4 separate regions of the Homo sapiens genome follow, and all the other regions are linked to region 1. The links are contacts of gene promoters, found by promoter capture Hi-C in blood cells and fetal thymus (Javierre and others, 2016). All regions are on one chromosome and are shown on one strand. The core of a region is centred on a gene start or on the middle of the fragment in contact, and the rest is flanking DNA. Distances in the headings are between cores, read along the strand shown. Region 1 holds the start of ABCA1 (ATP binding cassette subfamily A member 1). Region 2 overlaps FSD1L (fibronectin type III and SPRY domain containing 1 like). Region 3 overlaps FSD1L (fibronectin type III and SPRY domain containing 1 like). Region 4 overlaps FSD1L (fibronectin type III and SPRY domain containing 1 like).

Region 1 (3,636 bases), core at 556-3,055:
ATATACCTAAAGAGGCACCTACACATAACCCTGGCACCGTCCGCCGCCCCAAGAACCTTCCTGCTTTACCAATGGCCTGGGAGTTGGCAAACACGCTAACAAAAAAAAAAACCAAAAAAACAAAAAAAAAAAAACAAAACGGGCTTTCGCCTCAACCTCATAGTTCCTCCCCGTCTGCAACCACCGGTCTTCACCGGATTCACAGTCGGAACCGCGAGCAAAGACACCTAGTAGAGCCGGCCGATTCCTAGGTCCTCCGGCCAGGAGGCGCTGCGGGCCAGTCTCCGGGGGCCACCGCAGCCCGCGCGCCCAGCACCCCCACCCTCACGGCAGAGCCCAGCCCAGCCCCGCGGCGGAGCTCCGAGTTCTGCGCCGCCCGCCGGGGTTACTCCCGGTCATTCCACGGCACCACCTCGGCCCAGCTTCCCCATCTGCGCCCAGGCAGAAGCTGCCCCGAGAGACCAGCAGCAACGGTCTGGAAGATGGGGCTGCAGGGAACGTGGGAGAGGGAGGATTGGGCACCCCACCTCCGGGTCTCCGCAGGCTCTCCTAAGTCTTGTTTTTAAAAGAAACAAAACTCGGCCGCGCGCGGTGGCTCACGCCTATAATCCCAGCACTTGGGGAGGCCGAGGCCGGTGGATCACCTGAGGTCGAGGGTTCGAGACCAGCCTGGCCAACAAGTTGAAACCCCGTCTCTACTAAAAATACAAAAATTAGCTGGATGTGGTGACGCGCCTGTAATCCCAGCTACTCAGGAGGCTGAGGCAGGAGAATCGCTTGAACCCGGGAGGCGGAGGTTGCAGTGAGCGGAGATCGTTCCATTGCACTCCAGCCTGGGCGACAGACCGAGACTTAAAGGAAAGAAAAAAAAGAAAAAGAAAAGGAAACAAAACTCGTCCGCGCTCTGCGCCAGGGACACCAGCTCAGCTGAGCGCACGGAGACTGTAGGCAGGACCTCCCTACCCCTCAGGTCAAACAAAGACCCAAGGCCTCTAGTGAGCAATAGCACCACGGACCGTTTGGGACACCTCCAACTCGAGTTCCCGGATTCACAGTCCGGGACTGTGCCGCTCCAGTCCCGGGGAGCATATAGCCAATTCCCAGGTCAGAACAGACCAGCTTCTTAAGAACCGAGTGAAGACTCAGTGCTGGCATTTGTCTCCGTAGGTACTGGCCGACCTGCAACCAGAAGGGTTTCTAGCCAGCTCAGGGCCCTCCGAACAAAGCAGCGCTCGGTGCCGGACCTGCAGCTCTCCCCACCCGGCAGCAGCGCCCTCAGCACGCCCGGGAACCCCCGACCCCTCTGAGCCCGGGGTACTGCGCCCGGGTCTCCACGCCCAGAGATGCTCCCCGGTCTCCACCGTCGGGCAAGCCCCAAGCGCAGCAGCGCAGAGTCCTGGGGTCACCAGAGCTCGTACTAGGACATCGTCTCCCCATTTAACACCGCCTCCGGTCCCATCTGAGTTGCAAGTGGTGGGGATGTGGGGCTCCGGATCAAAGTCCCCGAAACCGAGCACTTCCCGAAGCCTCCTTGGCCTCGAAACAAAACAATAACGCCCAAGTAAGTCACTGGAGAGCCTCTTACCTGTTTTCCACTTTTGTGTTTGCGTCTCTTTCTCCTACCCCTTGACAAGCCTTCCGGAGAAGGGGAGAAAACAGAACCGGGGAAAAAACAAGGAGCAAAGCGCCCTGAGAACCGGCTCTGTTGGTGCGCGGAGCTCCCCGCCCTGCCCTGCCGCAGCCCGGGAGAGAAGGGTCGGCTCGGCTCTGCGGGTCCCGGCCCCACTCACTCTCGCTCGCAATTACGGGGTTTTTGCCGGGACTAGTTCCTTTTATAGATTCGGCTGCACCGAGCGCAGAGGTTACTATCGGTCAAAGCCTGTGCTCTCCCTCCTCCCCGCCCCGTTCCCGGCCTCTGTTTATGTAGTTCAGTCACTCAGCAGAAAGCACGTGGAGCCGGGGCCCGCCCCTTAAACGGGCGACGTTCAGCCGCCCACGACACATCTAGGGAGTTGGGGGGAGGTGGGTGGGGTGGGGGTGGAGGGTACAGCAGGTGTCTTAGGGTCCGCGGTCTGCGTCCCCTTCCCCCGCCCGGGCCCGCCGGCCTAAGACGCGCGGGAAGCGCTGGGCTCGGGGCTGCGCCGCAGACTCTCTAGTCCACGTTCCCGGCAGCCAAGGGCACCAGTGGAATTTGCTTCCTCTAAATCCTGCTTTCCGCAATTTTTTTTTCCTTTGTTAGTTTCCTCAGCCGGAGGGAGGGATTGGGGGAGAGAGAGCTCTAGGCTGAATCTCCCTCAGGACGCCAATCATTTTGTCTTGTCTTTTGTTTCCTTTCAAAGGCCTAGGCTGGGGTGAGGGGAAGGCGGACAGTCCTCTGGGTAATGGGCTGCTTTTGTTTTCCCCCCACAAACCTGGACTTTGATTTTTGATAGGCGACCTACTGCCTTGGAGATTCCCAGCCTGAGCTCCCCAGGTCCCTCAGAGGACCCGAGAGGAACATCTTACTGCTTCTCTTCATAAATTGAGAGGAAGGAGGCCACAAAAACAAAAAAAGAAACAAACAAACAAAAACACAGAACAATATGGACCAGCCCCCTTTTAATTTCATTATATTGATCAGCCTCCCTGTGATAAAAACACAGGACTTGTATTTAGTTTGTATACATTTGTGAAGTGCAGCCAGAGAATTGCAGTCGTGTAAAATTATGTAGCCACTCCAGACCTCCAACTTATCTGTTTGCCTTTGGCTGTAGGGGAGCAAAACTACCCAAAACACTGGAGGGGCAAAAAAAAAGGCAAGAGTAGGAATGCAGGCCTACACACCATATGTCTAAATATTTAAGTCATCCATCAAGCCAACAAACTAAATGTCACCTTATTCTGGCCAAAACTCAGGTCAAACTGTGAAGAGTCTAAATATGAATCTGCCCTGAAGGGCAGATTCATAGAAGACTCAGGACAGACCCGTAGAAGAGGCCCAAGCAGGCCCTGGAAGTGCACGTGGAGGCCACAAGGTCTCCTACCTTGACAAAGATACCTTTGTAGCCACCTTGAAGGGCAGATTCACATTTAGACTCTTCACAGTTTGACCTGAGTTTTGGCCAGAATGAGGTGGCATGAGAGAGCTGCCCCAAGCCTACTTCTCTTCCCACCTCCAGCTCCATCATATTCCAGAACTCCCACCACCTGCATACAGACATTCAGCTGCACAAGCCCCCTCCATGCTACAGTCAACAGGATCTCCAGGCCACGGCTCAAGCCCAGGTACTCACATCAGTGGTTCTATCAACACTCAGGACAGACCCATAGAAGAGGCCCAAGCAGGCCCTGGAAGTGCATGTGGAGGCCACCAGGCAAGGAATTCTGGAGTCCCAGGTACTCATAACTCTGGGTGGCATGGCCCCTTTGCACCATGGACTGTTTGCCCTTAGAAAGGGATGGATCTGAGCTGGGCGCAGTGGCTCATGCCTGTAATCCCAGCACTTTGGGAGGCCAAGGTGGGCAGCTCACCTCAGGTCAGGAGTTCGAAACCAACCTGGCCAACATGATGAAACCCAGTCTTTACTAAAAATACAAAAATTAGCCAGATGTGGTGGCGAGCGCCTGTTATCTCAGGAGGCTGAGGCAGGAGAATCG
Region 2 (3,636 bases), core at 322-2,821, 580 kb after region 1:
TAAGAATTTTAAGGGAAAATAGGACTACAGTAGTGGTTTTCATTGGGTTTTCTTATATGATTTTATTTATACAGATAAAATAGACTGAGATGATGGTATTGTATTCTCTGGGAGATGCTTAATTTATAAATTTCAATCTTGTTATAAATAGGTAAGTATCACTGAGATTTGCCCAGAGTTTTCCCATAGAATGGATTATGAATCAATATTGGGGAAGTATCTGTTTAGTTCAGGTCCTCTCTGTTTTCCTGTATCTTATTGCAACAGTTAACGTTTATATAGTTTATTAATGGTTACAAAACACTTTCAATTCTTTATTAGATAATTAAAGTCATCTTGAGAGATCAATATGCTAGATATTATTGATACCCATATTGCAGATGAAAAAATAGAGTTTTCATATATTAAATGACTTTCCCATGATCCCTAGACCTAGTTTGGAAAGGTGTGAATAAGAATCCACTTCTGAGTTTTGTGCCAGCCCTTACTATGAGCCTGGAACCTAGGTTCTTCTAGTCTCTGAAAGCAATTGGGGTTTAATGAAAACTCCCTAGAGTAGCAGACTTGAATACAGAGGATTTTTTAGATATTTACCAATTTGAAGGTTATAATGCTGGAGACTTTCCTAGTTGTGAGATGGTTATTGACTGGGTTTAATTCCAGAACCAGACTCTACACATTCTTGTAGGCACTTGGGACTTAAGGCATTCCACTGACCTCTAGTTCATATAGCATTTGAATAGGTTTACCTGCCAGAAATTTGATTGGATTTGGAGGATGACAAAAAAAATCATATAATAAAACAAAATATAAGGCCTATAAGTTATTGATGAGACAAACTCAGAAAAATGTTTGCATCACAAAGGTCTGAAATAAAGTCTATCTTGAAGTAATTTGTTTGGATTAGCAGATGTTTCTATTTGAGAACTATAGGTAACTTAGCCAAGGAATGCAGTTAACTCTGTATTACATGTTATCAAACTGAGATGTTATTGTGGTTTCTGTAGAGGTTTTTACCATTTTAAAATAATAGTCATATGTAGGCAGATAATCTTTTCTATATAACTTGAACTGTTTTTAGCCCATCAAGTAAAATTCATTACTATTATTCTTCCTCAAGAGCATCATATTTTTAAAATTTCTTTTGTTTCTTTTCATTTACTGTTCATATTTAATGACCAAAGTTGGACCTAAATGTGGTGAATTATAATTTCTATGCAAATTTCATAGATACAGGAAAATGAATCACTGGCTTGTGGTTTTCTTCCAGCTGGGCTGGCTGCTCCTATTAGCAGTGATTGGATGTTACTGGTCAAACTCTTAATCATGGGGTTTGTAGAGAGAAACTAAGTTGATTCTAGGCCTTTTCAGCACTTCTTCACTGTTGAGTAAACCCTCTGCGGTAGGAATAGACTGAAACTCAACTCTGAGACCCACAAAACAGTGATTCTGACCTTCAGGGAGTTCCAGAATAAAGTTAGACTCCTACATGGCCATGAGTCACAGATTTTCTAGGGTTATTCCATAGCATTAGTGGGGCTACTAATGAGAGTAAGAGCTGCAGAGGAAAAGTCCACATTTTTACCAATGACACACTGAACAGTTGTTTACCAATTTATTTGGCTTGTTGCAGCCTTTTTCAACCAACCAGTAGAAATTAGGGTATGGACAAAAAACTGGAGAGAAAGGAAGAAAGGTGGAGATTGAGTAGTTGAGCCTACCAAAATTTCATATACTTCCACTTAAGGTTCTTGATATGGAAAATAGTGAACATTGTTTACTTCTGCCCTCCAACATATGAAGCACTATTTCTTCTGGCATTGAAATTCTCAGAAGTCATGAGTAATATAAGTTCTTATCACCAGAATATTTAGAGTATATTATTAGTTATTTTCTTGTGAAGGTAAATGATATTAAATTACTAAATCACAAATTATTCTCCAACTTTAATTGATAGCAGCTATGATATAATTTTATAGTACCAAGAAAGCAGCCACTCGCACAAGTTAAACATATGAAACATATCTGTACTCTGATTTTTGGTACTTTGTTTTCACAGACTATTAAAGATACGGGAACCAGTATCTAGTTATATTATAGGACTTATACAAGAGATAGGACCTCACTTTTGAGGCTAGTCTTTTTTTTTTTTTTAACTATAGAGTATTATCTCTGTTACATTAGAGGAGCTCTATAACTTAACTGAGGTCCATAAGGGGTAGTGTCCACAAAGAAAGAGAGATACGAAAATGACACTCCTTAGGCTTGAAATCCATGCCTTTTTGTTTGGATGCTGCAGTATTTAATAAGTATGGTCTTAAGTGGTTTTCAATGGTACTATCTATTTTTTTTTTTTGCCACCTTTGACACCAGTATTGCTGGTGGCCCTTCTCTCCAGCATAACAAACATTAGGGGACAGCCTTAGGATTTCTTCCTTTTTTAAAAAAACAGCCTTAGGATTTTAGCAAGCAGTTGAGAATTGGTGGCACCTTAGAGTTAAATCCAATATTCTTTCTCAAAAATGTAGAAGCTCTCACATGCATTACCTAGTAGCTCACATATAGATGTTAACTTTATTAAGGCAGTTCATTCTTGGAAATGCAGGGTATAAGTTTTACTTAATCCTAACCTTTTGGTAACCTGTCTATTAAGGAATTCTATTTCTGTTTTTACTAAAAAGCTGCATGATTGCTGCATTATCTCTTTTTTCTGTAAGTTCATTTCTGTTTAAATGCAGATGTTGAAAGCTGTGAACTTCCTTGTACTGTATGACATTTACTGGAAGCTCTGTGGTCAGTAGATTTGTATTCAGAATGTTGTTTCATAAATAAAAAACAATGAACAATAGCTCCAATGCATAGTTGAAATTAAAGTGCTCTTTACAGAACAGTAGGGGATAAAAGGATTATTGATTCATTAGGTAAACAGTTATGTATCATCAAACAAAATAAACCTATAGAGAGTCATAGTTCACAGACACACTGAAGCCTTAGCTAAATTAAGTAATATCCATAAGTGAAATAGGGTTCTGTAAAGGGATACTGTATTTCTTAATATATACTAGAAGTTTGAACCTTTGGAGGGAAATAGAACTAACAGGCAGATTAGTTAGTAACTGTGTAATAGCTGATACCTTGCAAGATAGAGATTCCGAGAGTTATATTTTAAGATAAAAGGAATGGTGTGATTAGCCATGAATCAGTACATTCTAATGATTTACCCTCAGTTTCCAAGGAAAGAAGCTTATACCTTGCTTCACTGATTTCCTAAATTCCTAAAGCAGTTCTGAGTAAGTCTTGTGAAAAGTATAGTTAATTCCTCAAAATATTAAATAATCTGGAAGTCATAGTTTTATGGTTTTTTTTTAAATTTATGTGGTTCTTTTCCCTCTGTACTCTTCGTCATGTAAATTATCTATCAGCTGGGCCAGTTTCCTTGTTCTGCCATCACGGCCTCAGTTTCTCTATGTTTGCCTTACTTTGAAACTGACAGTGTAGGTATGAAATTATTAAATATTAGAGTATCAGAGAAAATGTGTATGCCAGGTTCTATAATTTTTTACACTATGTAATTTTATCCTTCTCCTTAATTCTTCCAGTTCCCCTTCCTATTTAGTCATAACAGTCAACTGATAT
Region 3 (3,636 bases), core at 315-2,814, 550 kb after region 1:
TATTGTATGTAAATATAAAAGGGACAACAGTTTTTACTTGTTTTTTATTATTTTGTGTGACCATGCAGCCCCAAGTAAATAGCTGAGTTCCCTTTCTAAACTTGTGCTTGCATAAAAAAAAAAGACAAAAGAGATACCTTATATATAGGTTTAAGTTGGTAGCATGTATGAAATCATCATGGAGAAAGACCCCATTGCTAGAAGTATTTCTCTGGTCTCTTTGTGTCTGAATTTCTGCCATTACAACTTTCTTTGGAGTAAAGGTTTATAGAATTGCAGCCTAGTTGTATTTGTTAGCAGGCAAACTCTGAGAATTCCTTGCCCTATAGAGGCATATAGAGAAAACTTGGAACAACGATTATGAAGTAGTGAAAGAGATCTCTGAAGAAAAATTAGAGAGTAAATTTGACATGTACAAGAAAACCATGAAGGAAGTTGTCCCATGAAGGAGATTGGTTGCTCTAGTTGATGAGTATCAGACTGAATGAAAGTGGAGGTGTGTTTTGATAATCTTAAGGTAAGAATAAAACATTTATAGTCACCTGGAATTTGTTCGAAGTGTTAAATTTTCCTCCTAAAAGGTGATTTTTGTGGGGTCTGGATTTTCTACTATAATTCTAACATCACATGAAAGCTTATGTGAACTATACACATAAATTTTCTATAGTTTGTGTTTTGGTGAATATGAACTAATCTGTTGCAGGGTTTATATCCTAACTTTTCTTGCATGTCACTGCCATTGAAACTTGCATGAAAAGCACTAACTTGCCTTCTTTCTCTTCTCCCTGATTGGCTCCAAGGCTGCCAGACAGATCAAGGATAGGTATGGTATAAAACACATTTTTACTTAAGTATAAATATTGAAGTCAGAAATGAAATTCAGAAATAGTTTTTTAATTAAAATTGTGTTAGTTAAGATAAAAGTACCCAATGACCAAGTACAAAATAAAATGTCCTCTGTGTATTTTCTTGGAATAACCATTGTATCAATAAAATTTTTTAAAAGCATAGTTGTGGATAATTATGTGCTTCAGAAGAATTTCATTTCTGGTGTAGAAATATAGTTAGTTTTAGTTTTAGAACAGTTCTTAATTAGTTGTACTAATGAAAAGGGAACTATTTTGAATAACTTAAAAATATATATTTCTGGAATGTGTTTTTTGTTGTTAAATTTAAATGTAAGTGGGTCTTATTTTCTTTGAACTCACTCATTTTAAGTAGTCCTCAAGAACTAAAGCGCTCCTATTTCACTGCCCTCCTGTTTAACACCTTGTATTCTCATTCCATCCTGTTCCTGGTGCCATCTCTTTCTATTTCTAATGCCACCACTATCTAGTTAATATTCTGTGGGAAGAGAAAATTAAAGAAAATTATTAAAGGTTTTGGTTTAAAAGTTCTTTCTTATTGGTAGAGCCAGGCTTAAGAAAAGGAATTTAGTACTTGTAATGAACATAGATTGCTAAAGGAGTTGCTGGCAACATTTGGATTGCATTAACACAGAAGGAACAGTTTGGATCTGCCTGTCTAGTCACTGAGTATTGTCTGTATTGAGATTATAGCAAGTTTTTTCATCTGAGGGTCATGAGATTCTCTGAAAGGCACAGCTCTTCAAAGTGCCACTCCAAATCCTAGATTAAATTATTCTTCATCAGATAATTCACAAAAATTTTCATTATAGATTATGTGAAAAACAGTGCCTCTATTGTTAATCTTGGCTGACAGTTTTACTTCTGGGTTTCTCTTTTTTTTTTTTTTTTGAGGCAGAGTCTTGCTCTAGCACCCAGGCTGGAGTGCAGTGGTGCGATCTTGTCACACTGCAACCTCTGCCTCATGGGCTCAAGTGATCCTCCACCTCATCCTCCTGAATAGGTGGGACTACAGGCATGTGCCACCACACCCAGCTAATTTTTGTATTTTTTGTAGAAACAGGGTCTTGCTATTTTGCCCAGGCTGGTCTGGAATGCCTAAGCTCAAGCTATCCGCCCAACTTGGCCTCCCAAAGTGCTGGGATTACAGGTGTGAGCCATTGTGCCTGGTCCTGTATTAATTTTTATATTTTTTGTATATTTTACATCAGGCAGTAGCTAAAGACATGGATCATTCTTATAAATCCTGGATCTAGAAAGATGATTGTGAAAGTTTGAAGGTGAAAAATATTAGCTGTGTGAGGAATGGATGCTAGATAGGTCAGTTTTGTGGATAAGGTAGATTTGGGTTGTGTCTGGAAATTGCTATGAGTCATCCATCTTCCTCCCTGGGTATATTATACTTACTGTTTAGCTACCTATCCCACTGCATCCTGCTCTAGTTCCTAATTTTCTGAATTAGAAGTTACTTCCTAATCATGACCTTGCAAAATCTGTCCTTTTTTCAAGATTCTATATGGCTCTTTGCATCACAGAATCTTGTCTGTATCCTTAAACTCTTTGTCTTTGCCCAGATTTGTTTATCAGAATTTAATTTCATGACCAATTTCAATGGCTGTATTCTTCACTGAAGCTTGGGTTTTTTGCGTCTTCTAAGCCAGCCTCTTGGCTTGATTTCATAAGTATCCAGGTGATCTCAGGAATTAGGGTTCAGGCAAACTCTGTGTGTGTGTGTGTGTGTGTGTGTGTGTGTGTGTGTGGTTCTTTTTTTTTTTTTTTTTTTTTGCTTGTTCAAACCCTATAGCATTTTTGTGATCCCCTGCAGAATTTTTACTTCCTGCCCGAGGAACATTTCTGATTCTCAACTTAATTTTTTTTTTTTTGAGACAGAGTCTTGCTCAGTTGCCCAGGCTGGAGTGCAGTGGTGCAATCTTGGCTCACTGCAGCCTCTGCCTCCCGGGTTCAAGCGATTCTCCTGCCTCAGCCTCCCAAGTAGCTGGGATTACAGGCACCTGCCACCACACCCAGCTAATTTGTGTGTGTGTGTGTTTTGTAGAGATGGGGTTTCACCATGTTGGCCAGGCTCGTCTCGAACCCCTGACCTCAAGTGATCTGCCCACTTCGGCCTCCCAAAGTGCTGGGATTACAGGTGTGAGCCACTGTGCCCGGCCCTTCAACTTAATTTTTAAAATTTGATGTTTAGCTTTATAATGTTCAGGTTTCTCTGATGTAGTTTTTGGTACTCGCCAAAAGTGAGCTTTTAGAATTCCATTATTGTCATTTAAAATATAAAAATAATTTAAACGTAGTCATAATAAAATAATTACTGTAGCTATTTTCACCAAGCAAAGAAAGGATTTTTTTTTTTTTTGGGTCAGGGTCTTGCTCCATCACCCAGGCTGGAGTGCAGTGGCACAATCACAGCTTACTGCAGCCTGGACCTCCCTGGCTTAAGGGGCCCTTCCACCTCTGCCGCCTGAGCAGCTGGGACTGCAGGCACGTGCCACCATGCCCCGTTAATTTTTTTGTATCTTTTGTAGAGATGGGGTTTCGCCATGTTGCCTAGGCTGGTCTCAAACTCCTGGGCTCAAGCTGTCCTCTCGCGTCAGCCTTCCGAAGTGCTGGGGTTACAGATATGAGCCACCATGTCCGCCCTAGGATTATCTTTTTATAAGGGCATAGATGGATTTTAAGGGAGAATGTGTAACATATCTGAGCAAGAAATCAAATATAAAAAATGAAAATGTCTGTGAAAACTCATCATTTATCA
Region 4 (3,636 bases), core at 545-3,044, 530 kb after region 1:
AAGTGCATGCTGATTGGTCCATGGGCAGGAGGAAGTATGTGCTGATTGGTCCATGGGTGGGCGTGGAAAAAGCACCATTTGTTTGACTGAAAGGCATAAAGGAAATTCTTATTCAGGGTTGTGGATTCCATCAGGAACTGGCAGCCCAGTTTTCAGGCTTCAGACTGTCTTTGGCCTGAAGGTCAGGTTTCACCAGGGACCCACCCCTATCTGCCTAGGACTACGTCTGCCTCCTGCTGCTATCACTAGAACCATTAAGGGGTAAAATCTATAGAACTTTGTGACTTCACGTAGAGCACAAATTAGAGGAGAGGAGATAGTGATGATGGCCTAGCTTTCTGTCTTCGCTCTTGATTAAATTTGGAGGTCCTGGAGGGATAGACTGGGGTAGAAAACTCGTTGAATTATGATATATTTTAGATCTTTTCTGCTCTCTTTCTCTGCCCTGGCATATTGCCTACCATATCTAGAAAACACTTTTTAAAAACTGCTGGATTTGATGCCTGTTCAGCCAGTCTCCCCTTGTATACCTCCTAGATTAGGCACATACTATCCTTATATACACCTTTTACTTGACTCCTACCACCATAGAGAAAATTTTAGCTTTATGTCACATATGCAAGCTAGGGTCAAGTTTCAGAACTCAGCACATGTAATCCTGTTTCTTTAGTTTTCATATGTTTTGGTGCTGTGGTGGTAGTTTTGTCTTAAATATTCTGATTCCTTGTAACTTGTTTTCCAGTTCTACTGAGCACCAAGTTCCTTAGTGCTTTTTATCTTTATGCCATTTCCACTTAGTTCCAGCCAGTCCCCATTCTTGTGAGGGTCAGAAAGGTTGAAGCCTTGGCCCTCTCCCTGATAAACTTACTATTTTAGAATGCTAAATATGAGCCTTGGATTACAGTCTTTTTCATTTGCTCATCCTCTCTACAGCAGTTGCAGATTAAAGGGCAAGTGGATCAGAGCTTCTGGAGCCTTTGTCTCAGTAGTCTGCCCTTGGGGAACTTTGCGAATATTTCCTTCCTCCTTTAAGCTTAGAAAAGCTTAGCAGAGAGGCAGCATTTTATCTGTATTAGCTAACAAGGTCACATTGGTTGCTATGACTTTCTCTTTATGATCTGAATGGTTGCTTTTTCTGCAGCCAGGTTTACTAATGTATTCGGTAGCTTTGAAAATATAGATGATCTTAAATGCTGGGGTTCCAGAGTCCTCTACAGCTGGCTTGTCCATTCTGATAGCATCTCAGTGGTGTATTGTAGCCAAGGCTCTGAAGCCCTCCTCATCTAAAGATTGCAGTGCGTCCTCTGAAAATAATCTAGGCCTTTAGTCTTTGCAGTTTTGGCATTAGGGTAAAGCAACTTTTCTCAGAATGTGGACCCTTTATCTAGGTGTGTATTACAGACTCTCATGCTGTACTGGAACTCCTTGTTAAATTCAAGAGCTGTAGAGTGCTCTCTCTTCAAAGAATGAGACTGTGTTTCTCAGAAATACTATATCAGCCTTTAAAGACCTTTCTTTCTCATCCACTTTCTGGGGAAGTACAGTATTTTTACAGCCTTAGGCAATTCATATAGGATATCATTCCCCTAAAGGCTTTAACACAGATTGTAGAGTTTCTTTCCAGAAGTATGGCTATTAATACATCTTAGGCCAATACAGTTGAAAAGGGTCTTTCATCTGTGGTAATAGAATTTTGAATGAATTTAAGAGGAATGGTAAAGATAAGATTAACTGTAATCGCTGGGAGTGGTGGCTCATCCCTGTAATCCTTGCACTTGGGAAGCCGAAGTGGGTGAATCACAAGGTCAGGAGTTCGAGACCAGCCTGGCCAGCATGGTGAAACCCCATCTCTACCAAAAAATACAAAAAATTAGCCAGGCACGGTAGCTTGCACCTGTAATCCCAGCTACTCGAGAGGCTGAGGCAGGAGAATTGCTTGAACCCAGGAGGCAGAGGTTGCAGTGAGCCGAGATTGCACCACTGCACTCTAGCCTGGGTGACAGAGTGAGACTCCATCTCAAAAAAAAAAAAAAAAAAAGATTGACTGTAATCTAAGGGTGGTATTTTTTTGGAGGTATGCGATAGTATCATAGAAAATGGAAGGCATTATTCTGATGATTCTTTGAATTTGTCTAACCTGTATGTCAGTTGTCCTTAGGTGCAGTCTTGTTTTTGTTAGCTGCCAACTTTGACGTGGACATTTGCACTTTCTGTGATCCCAAGAAGTCTTCTCTAACCCAAAACATGAGTGAACGGTGTAAATTTCACAGGAGAGAGGAGTGTATTTGTTTCTTCTGTTATGGTATTGGACCCCGAAGTGGTGTTACTTATGTACCAATTTCTTTTGAGAGTTGGTAATTTTAAAATGTCTTTCACCTTCTAGAGTTAATATTTATGTAAATAAAAACTGAGAAATGAGTGAAATTCTGGTAAAGGAAGTTGGTTGTAACATTTTAACTTATATCCACATATAGCTATTATAATTCAAGAATCTGGCATAACATAAGCACATAAAGAAATTCTGGTCTTCCAAGAAAAAAGTTCAGAAAGCTTTTAGGTCGTTTATTTTTAATTGCAAATTAATAAGATTAATAGAGGATCTCTGCCCTATTTCCACTCTTAGAAATATATGGTCTGTTTGGATGACATAGACCTCTTAAGTCTGTATTATCCAGGATGGTAGCTTCTAGCCGTAATGTGGTTTTTGAGCACTTGAAATGTGGCCAGTTTGAATTGAGATATGCATAAGTGTAAAATACAAACTGAATTTTGAACACTCCGTACCAAAAAAAAAGAAAAACTCATTAATTGTTAAATATTGACTACATGTTGAAATGATAATATATTTTGAATCTATTAAATAAAATATTAAAATTAATTTATCCTGTTTTTCCTTTACTTTTTTGATGTGGCTGCTATTGGCTCCTACTGTATTTATATTGGACAGTACTGCTTTAAGGAGAATGAAAACGTTACAGTTGATAAAGCCTGTTTTCTGATCTCTAACATCACTATTGGACCAGAGTCTATTAACTTGCAGCAGGTTGGTAGCTCTTAAAGGAGCAGAGGTTTTAACTTGAAGATCTGATTCAAAATTAGAGCATTTAGATGTCTTTGACTATACTCATTAAAAAACAGGAACATTAAAAAGGTAGGCTTTAGCTGGGAGCAGGGATCATGCCTGTAATCCCAACACTTTGGGAAGCTGAGGTGGGAGGATTGCTGGAGCCCAGAAGTTCGAGACCAGCCTGGGCAACATAGTGAGACCTCGTCTCTACAAAAAATCAAATAATGAGGCAGGTGGATATGGCTTGAGCCCAAGAGGTTGAGGCTGCAGTGAGCTACGATTGTGTCACTGCACTCCCACCTGTGTGACAGAGCCTCAAAAAAAAAAAAAAGGCTTCTCATTAAAATCTTGGGAGCTCAGGTCTTATCTAGTTGGGGCAATAAGTTACAGCTATCTCCAGATTTTTGCTATGTAATTTCTGAAATGCAAAGCTTGCTACTAAACTTAGACCAAAAAAATATGTAAATGGGAAGCTATTTTATGCTAAGGAGATTTTATTTTTTGCTCTGAACTGTATCTGCCTTTTTTTTGGTACCAATGTTTTATAATTTTTTTTGGTGGAAAGTTTT

What was found. The method cuts DNA at HindIII sites, captures the fragments that hold promoters and counts their contacts. A CHiCAGO score of 5 or more calls a contact.
Region 2: a contact is called between a fragment that was not itself captured here and the fragment with the promoter of ABCA1 in region 1, in 1 of 17 cell types (M1 macrophages). The highest score is 5.6, in M1 macrophages.
Region 3: a contact is called between a fragment that was not itself captured here and the fragment with the promoter of ABCA1 in region 1, in 1 of 17 cell types (M0 macrophages). The highest score is 5.8, in M0 macrophages.
Region 4: a contact is called between a fragment that was not itself captured here and the fragment with the promoter of ABCA1 in region 1, in 1 of 17 cell types (M0 macrophages). The highest score is 6.4, in M0 macrophages.

The regions. Positions count from the first base shown.
Region 1 is chr9:104,926,350-104,929,985 of GRCh38, forward strand. ABCA1 (ATP binding cassette subfamily A member 1) reads right to left here and starts at 1,806. Exons shown (of 50, transcript NM_005502.4): 1 at 1,586-1,806. LOC105376196 (a long non-coding RNA gene) reads left to right here and starts at 440. Exons shown (of 3, transcript NR_188620.1): 1 at 440-1,561; 2 at 3,159-3,375. RefSeq lists silencers at 200-439, 1,776-1,965 and enhancers at 1,116-1,175, 1,496-1,575. The HindIII fragment of the contact is 9,744 bases long and covers 1-3,636 here.
Region 2 is chr9:105,508,849-105,512,484 of GRCh38, forward strand. All of the region lies in intron 9 of FSD1L (fibronectin type III and SPRY domain containing 1 like), which reads left to right. Among named protein-coding and RNA genes, the nearest start is that of FKTN, 47 kb to the right of the region's middle. The HindIII fragment of the contact is 3,339 bases long and covers 1-3,241 here.
Region 3 is chr9:105,478,554-105,482,189 of GRCh38, forward strand. It overlaps FSD1L (fibronectin type III and SPRY domain containing 1 like), which reads left to right. Exons shown (of 14, transcript NM_001145313.3): 6 at 801-823. Among named protein-coding and RNA genes, the nearest start is that of FSD1L, 32 kb to the left of the region's middle. The HindIII fragment of the contact is 1,865 bases long and covers 633-2,497 here.
Region 4 is chr9:105,458,573-105,462,208 of GRCh38, forward strand. FSD1L (fibronectin type III and SPRY domain containing 1 like) reads left to right here. Exons shown (of 14, transcript NM_001145313.3): 2 at 2,948-3,043. Among named protein-coding and RNA genes, the nearest start is that of FSD1L, 12 kb to the left of the region's middle. The HindIII fragment of the contact is 1,507 bases long and covers 1,042-2,548 here.